Regions from separate parts of the Homo sapiens genome. Here region 2 is linked to region 1. Evidence: promoter capture Hi-C in 16 types of primary human blood cells and fetal thymus (Javierre and others, 2016). All regions are on one chromosome and are shown on one strand. The core of a region is centred on a gene start or on the middle of the fragment in contact, and the rest is flanking DNA. Distances in the headings are between cores, read along the strand shown.

Region 1 (3,673 bases), core at 584-3,083:
TTTTTAAAAAACAAAAATCTTAAAAAGGTTTTTTAGACAATTTTTCCATTTTAATAGAATACCTATCCCTGCTGTCACAGTTATTCCATCCAACCTTATCTAATACTTGATATGAATCTCTGTGCTGTGGCCACATTCTCTTTCGATTTTGTTTGCTGTTAGCACTGTGTCTGTACTAAAGCACGAGAATATGGATTTATACATTTTTTTCTAACCAATGTCTTCTCACTCAAAACTTATTTTGCTTTGTCTTTTAATTATTTTTCACTCTGAGTTGCGTACTGAAAGCCTAATGGCAAGAGTCTTAAAATCTCTGCATAAAACTTAAAGTTTACAGTAATTTTTTACTCCAAAGAGTACTAACTGAAACACAATAACTCAAAGAATACAGCCTCAGATATTTTATTACAAAATGTAGTACTACCATTAATTAGCATGATATAAAGAAATACTGGTCACAGACCAAAAACTGAGTTCGACAGTCTGAGTTTCTATGAAGAAAAGTTTAATAAATTATTCTCAAGGTAACAGTTTCAGAAGAAAAAGTTTTTAAACATTTTAAATATTTAAGAAGTTTTATTTCCTGGTAACAACTGTTAAAAATAATTTACAAATGTAATTTATTTACGCTGGTTGATAACAGAAAAAAATATATAAATTATTATAAAACTTTCTGAAGTCAAAATTGCTTTATTTACTAGGTTCAGGCATCATACGTCCAAAAATGTGAGGCTCCAAATTCAGGCGCAGCGGAGAGTGTGTTAATGAAGTTAGTGCTGGTATACTGACACCCTAGAGAAAAACCAGGTTTTCAGTTTATGTATCAGGTGCATGCAAAGGGCATTAAAAAAAAAGTGCTCTACAACGTTGGTCAGAAATGACTACATTACTTCTACTGGTATGAAAAACTGCAAACCCATCTCAGCCCCTATCAGACTGGCAGACACTAGTCCTGAAGCAACTGGGCCTAATCCAAAACTTCGGCGCAGCAGGTCACAGAGGAGGCGCCTGGGAAAGAGGAGATATCAAGTGAAAGTGAAGCAGGGAGAAGCCAGAAGCCGCCCCAGGCAGGTCAGAAAAGACTGTGGGGCTGGGAGGGAGGATGACAGGGTGTGGGGAGTGGGTGGGAGGAGGGGGTGTTATCAGAGGGAGAGCACTAAATGACACAAAGCAAAGGCAATCCTTAAAATGCCAATTCACCCTGGGAGACAGGGTGTGCACAGTGGAAAAGCAGGGTTTGGGTCCTGAACCCAGGAAAACCATTTCACAGACAAGTACACCGAGGTATGGGTTTCAAATACGGTCCTGCAACAAGGGAGCAGTACAGTTACGAGTAGACTGTGAGCCCTTGCAGGGTATAATTCAACCTGGCATTCCCCGCCCGCCCCAGCAGTGCCTAGCACTTGGCACAACCAGGAACTATCTCTGAATGAATGTCCCACGTCTTGAAACTCTAGGCTTCTTCCCAGACACCTGGGCTTCTGGCCTTAATACGCTAGGGTCCAGGACGGGAGAAACCCAGGCTGAGCGGGTCCGGAGAAGATGGGGCCTTGGGGTCCGAGTCCAACCACTGGCCCTCCGCCCGTCCACGGGCACTCACCCGGATGCCCTTCACCACGGTGATGTTCTCATTCTCGTCCGCCTCGAAGGTGACCCGGCGGGTGCTGGTGGTCCCACCCATGATTCCGGTTCCTGCCCCAGCGGAGACCTAGCGGGGAACCACGAGCACTTCGGGGCCCCCGCACCCACACGCGCGTGGAAGGGCCTGGATTCTTTTCCCGCACAGCGGGAGCAAGGCCACGACCCCCAGAAGCAAGGAGAAGGCGCCGGTCCTGAGCTCCCGCCTCCTCCGGTCACGCGCCACAACAAAAACGCCTCAGGTTGGTCGGCGATGCGAACTGCCCGCCTCTGTTCGGCGAGGGCGCCCGGATTGGTTCACCCGACCCGGATGCTATGGCAACAGGTGGTGTTTGATAGCTTTCCGCGGAGTCCCTGGGTGTAGTGGGAACTGTGGTCTCGATCTGGCGCGGTGGGTGATGGGACATTCTCTCCCCGCGCCTGAGCGCGCTAAGGGAGCACGGCATTCTGGGAGTTGTGGTTTTGACTCCCCAGAGACGCCTAACTGGGCAACTTTTTGAAGACATAATTCTAGAAATTTAGGCCACTAAGTTCAGAGACACAATCTTTCTCTCAAAGGGACTCACAGTTTAATGAAAAAGATGCATGATACTAATGAAGCCATTCCTAGTGTTCTATACACAAATTCCTGGCTCAAAACTTAGCGTTTCATTACAGTCGTAGGGTAGCTTAATGAAGACTACTTCTGAGAAATGCCTCGTTAGGTGACCCTGTGATATCTGTGGTTGTGCAAACATCATAGAGTGTACTTACACAAACCCAGATGGTGTAGCCTACTACACACCTGGGCTACTTGGTGTAACCTATTGCTCCCAGGCTGCAAAGATGTACAGCATGTCACTGTACTAAATACTGTAGGCAATTGTAACACAGTGGTATTTGTGTGTACAAATATATGTAAACATAGAAAAGCTACAGCAAAAACAGTGTAAAAGTGATTGCTTTGGCAACACATCTAGGACAATTTGAACAATACAGAGATTAGCACAGCCCCTGAGCAAGGTTGACACATGAATTTCTGAAGCATTCCATTAAAAAAAAAATCAAAGATAAAAAATGGTATGCTTCTATAGGGCACTTACCATGAATGGAGCTTACAGGACTGGAAGTTGCCCTGAGTGAGTCAGTGAGTGAGTGGGGAGTTGAATGTGAAGGCCTGGGACGCAACTATGCAGTACTGTACCTTTTATCAACACTGTGCACTTAGGCAACACTAAATTTATTTTCATATATTTTCATTCTTCAAGAATAAATTGACCTTAGCTTACTGTAACTTTTTAAACTTATAAACTTCTTTTTTTGTGACTTTTTGACTCTTTAATAACACTTAGCTTAAAACACAAACACACTATATAGCTGTACAAAAATATTTCTTTCTTTATATACTTAGTCTATAAGCTTTTTCTATTTTTGAAATTATTTACTTTTTACTTTTTAAACATTTTTGTTAAAAATTAAGACAAACACACACACATTAGCCTAGACCTACACGGGGTCAGGATCATCAATATCACTGTCTTCCACCTTCACATCTTGTCCCACTGAAAGGTCTTCAGAGGCAATAACACGTATGGAGCTATCTCCTATGATAACAGCACCTTCTGTAACACCTCCTGAAGGACCTGCCTGAGGCTGTTTTACAGTTAACTTTTTTATATAGGTAGAAAGAATGCACTTTAACCTAAAGATAAAAAGCATAGTATAGTAAATACTAGGAGACAGGAATTTTCCAGCTCCATTATAATCTTATGATTCCACTGCCAGAAATGAGGTTCTTCTTTGACTGAAACACTGTTATGCAGTACATGAATGGTGGCATTTTAGTAGTAGCCATAAAATAAAAAAATAAAAAACGTAAACGTGTGTTTGGTCCATGTCTCTTGTCTCATGAACTAGTATCTGTATTTTTTTCTTTTTGTAAAGTAAAATTTTAAGTACTATGGTTTTCAAACCTGTCTATGAGAAAATACATTTCTTCATAGAATAAATTATTTGCACCAAGTATGTAGAGAATTTACTTTCCACTTTTGTGTCT
Region 2 (3,658 bases), core at 170-2,669, 430 kb before region 1:
TTCTTCACTTCCTCTTGGGCAAGCAATCTCCATTTCCTTCCCCACAGTGCTGCTGTCTTCTGAAAAGAAGCAGTGGACAAGGGATAAGAACCTGTCTTGGGAGGAGCCAATCTCTTCTGGGGTCTAGAATCTGCCTCTCAAACAAATCTCACTTTGTAATTAGACTTTCTTTGGCCACTAGACTGTCCCCCAATATGGTTTGGCTGTGTCCCAACCCAAATCTCATTCTGAATTGTAGCTCCCACAATTCCCACATGTCATGGGAGGGACCCAGTGGGAGGTAACTCAATCTTGGGGGCGGATCTTTCCCATGATGTTTTTGGGATAGTGAATAAGTTTCACAAGATCTGATGGTTTTATACAGTGGAGTTCCCCTGCACATGCTCTCTCTTGCTTGCCACCATGTAAGATATGACTTTGTTCCTCCTTCATTTTCCACCATGATTGTGAGGCCTCCCCTCACAATGGTGAGGTGGAATGGTGAGTTTATTAAACCTCTTCCCTTTATAAATTACCCATTCTTAGCTATGTCTTTATTAGCAGCATGAGAACAGACTAATACGCCCCCCAAGTAATTAAAGCCTGTAGGCCTTTCTATACACCTGGCTGATGCCATCTGCTTAGACCACAACAGTCTGAATTTGGATCCTCGCACCATGGTTGAAATGTGAATGTAAATGGCTTGGAGCTATGTTTTTCACAAGTGCTGGTGTGTCACTTGTGTCCCGCCCTATGCTTCTCAACATCCTGGTGTGTTTAAGTGACTTGCTCACTCCTGAACACCTGGTCTCCCTCGACGTGCCAGGGCCCTCAGTCCCTGCTTGCTTGCTACGTGCTATCAGAGTCTGATGACACCTGGCCAGTCCTATATAAAGGGGAAGTGGTGACTGATGGCCTTGCTCTGCCCAAGCTGCTGCTGTGAAACCTGCCTGGAAGACACTGACAGCAGCTCTAGCCCTCCCTTGTGCTAAGGAGAAAGGCTCCAGCTCTCTAAGAGCAGTGACTATAGGAACAACAGCTCACCCCTTCTGTCAGCTGAGCTATCCCCAGCCTGGAGAGGTGAGATGCCACCTCTGCTAACTTCCTTTTTTGGCTAGGAATATCCATTTTCTTCCTCATTGAGTCTGAGGAGGTAGCACTAGAAAAGCTTACTTATGCTTTTATCATTCAGATCTCTGGGTAAATTCTTACTCACCCAGAGACAAAAAGAACCTGCTCTAAGCTCCATCTTAGGTGCAAAAATTAGGTACAAGCAGAAAAAGAGAAGTCTGAAACATGGGTCTGCCTGAGAAGATGGTGGAAGGGGATTGCAAGTAGAGACTGACAGCCCCAAAAACTTGGAGAGACCCCCCCAGACAAGTCAATCAGAAGTGCCCAGAGTAACCTTCCCATAGAATTTTCTGCCACAATGGAAATGCTCTGTGACTTTATGTCCAATATGGTAGCCATGAGCCATGTGTGTGTCTCTGGAGCACCTGAAATGTAGTTAGTGTGACCAAGAAACTGAGTTTCTAATTTTGTTTGATTTGAGTTAGTTTGAATCTGAAGAGCCACATATGTATTACTGTATTAGACAGAAAGCTCTAGAAAAACGCTAAACTGAAAAAAAAAATTGAGGGTTGTCAGTGAGGGACAACCACCACTAGAGGCTTTCAGCAGGTTCTGAGCCAAGTTTAGAAATTTGCATGGGCCAAGCTTCAGCAGGCCAGGGGAAGTGGAGTTTCTACCTGAAGCTGAGGGGAAATCCAGCTCCATCTCCACGAAAATAGTATTTTCTAGGTACCGAGAGAAGAGGTTAAAGATAGATGTAAAGAAGCCATCACTGTGTTGTTTATTATAACCCAAACACTGGAAGTAATAGGATCAATACAATAAAAACTGCTGAGCACATATGATGGAACATTACACGAACATTAAAAATCATGTTTTTAAAAATTATTTGGTCACATAAGTGAAAAAATAGAATATGAAAAATATATATACATCATGATCAAAATTTCATGGAGGTAAATACATTATGTATACATGTATAGAAAACAGCTTAGAATGAAATATACTAAATTATCAACAGGAGTCATTTCTAGGTGGTAAAATTTTGAATACTTTTACTTATGTTTTATATTTTTTGCATATTTCCAAATTCTCTGTAATGGTCATTTGTTATTTTATACCAAAAAAAGTCCTATTTAAAGGATGTTCTAAAGAGCTTTTAATAGTGTAGCAAATGCAACTTATTGATAAGCAAACAAAGCAAGATATGATATTGTACATGTAAGTTCTATCATAAGTACATAAACCATATGTGGAGAAAACATTGGAATGTTTGCAATGCTCTCGTGAAATTACATACCTTTCTACTACAGTACTCTTTTCTATAGCCATCTTTTCTGCAATTAGATGTGTATTATTTTCTAACACAGAGGTGGAGAACTCCAACTCATCTGGATGAATCTCCAACCCCAAATATTTAAACAAGCATGTTCAGGCCCTTCCCCCAACCCTGGGTAGACTTGAGCCTTGCTCCTCCCACAGCGTCTTGGGGACACAGTGGCAGTTTCTTGCCCAGCACCCTCGGTGGGCTCCTGACACTCCTAGTGCCGAAATGGATGGCTACTCACCCTTTGGGGCTGACCCTTTCTCCTCCATCCCCTCCCACTCCATTACCACAGCGATTCATTGAAAGAGATCAATAATTATGAAAAACAATTGATTTTCTACTCCCCTCCACCCCCTTCTTTCTCTGAGTAAGTCTGTCTGACATGCATAACGGGAATCAAACCAGAGAGGAAGTGCTGCGGCTTCCCTGGTGGGACATTGTGCTCTCTCTCCCTCTCGGAGGGCCCCTCCCTCTGCACTTTCAGCGATTTCAAGATCCGCACATTACTCTTTATCAACTTGGCAGATGCTATTGCCTCTTCCGGCTCACAAGCTTCCGTGCTGGGCTCCTCTTGTCTGCTTCCTCTCCTGCTAAGATCCCAACACCAGCAACTCACCCAGGGCCGGCCGAGGCTCAGGCTGCAAACTGCACTACCCAGTTCTGAGAGGATAGAAAACTATAGCAGCTGGTTCATCAGGCTTGATGGTGCACCCCAGAACCTTCCCTTAAGGAAGGAGAATTCTCCAATAGATTCCCCTCTCAGTAAAAAACCTCATTCCCTTCATCTCAAAACAGAGGAGCTCGGAGTTGTAAGTGAACCCGAGTTGAGTGGGAACACCACCAAACCACTTCCCTCTGGAGCCCAGCTTTATACAGTAGACAGAATACTGGCATTTACAGGCTTATCATTTGCTATTTTGACCCAGGAGGTCCATTACCCAAAGTAACTTGCAATTTTACTAAGGCATGAATTTAAATTGTTTTTGCTGAATGGTTGATAAGGCAAAAGAAAACTGAAGGCGTGTCAATAACGAAATGGTCATTTGGAAGGGAAACTGAGGCATCAAGAGACGACAAGTATTGGTATAATGGGTCCTTAAAAGCTCTAATTTCAGACCCACAGCAGAGCATTAGCATTCAGAATGGTTGAAACAGAAGTTGATCTGGATTTATTAAAATGTCAGTTTCTTGATATAGTGGTCTCTTCAACAAAGTCTTAATTGCTAGCCTCCCACCAATTTGGAAAACACACATACACATACACACACACACACACACACA

What was found. The method cuts DNA at HindIII sites, captures the fragments that hold promoters and counts their contacts. A CHiCAGO score of 5 or more calls a contact.
Region 2: a fragment that was not itself captured here is called in contact with the fragment with the promoter of CHCHD3 in region 1 in 1 of 17 cell types (non-activated CD4 T cells); the score reaches 5.9 in non-activated CD4 T cells.

What each region holds. Positions count from the first base shown.
Region 1 is chr7:133,080,257-133,083,929 of GRCh38, forward strand. It overlaps CHCHD3 (coiled-coil-helix-coiled-coil-helix domain containing 3), which reads right to left and starts at 1,834. Exons shown (of 8, transcript NM_017812.4): 1 at 1,601-1,834. The coding sequence starts at 1,681. It also overlaps the pseudogene RNU6-92P. RefSeq lists enhancers at 1,567-2,201, 1,617-1,796, 2,007-2,116. The HindIII fragment of the contact is 4,501 bases long and covers 1-3,034 here.
Region 2 is chr7:132,652,687-132,656,344 of GRCh38, forward strand. All of the region lies in intron 1 of FLJ40288 (Putative uncharacterized protein FLJ40288), which reads left to right. Among named protein-coding and RNA genes, the nearest start is that of FLJ40288, 5.7 kb to the left of the region's middle. The HindIII fragment of the contact is 548 bases long and covers 1,146-1,693 here.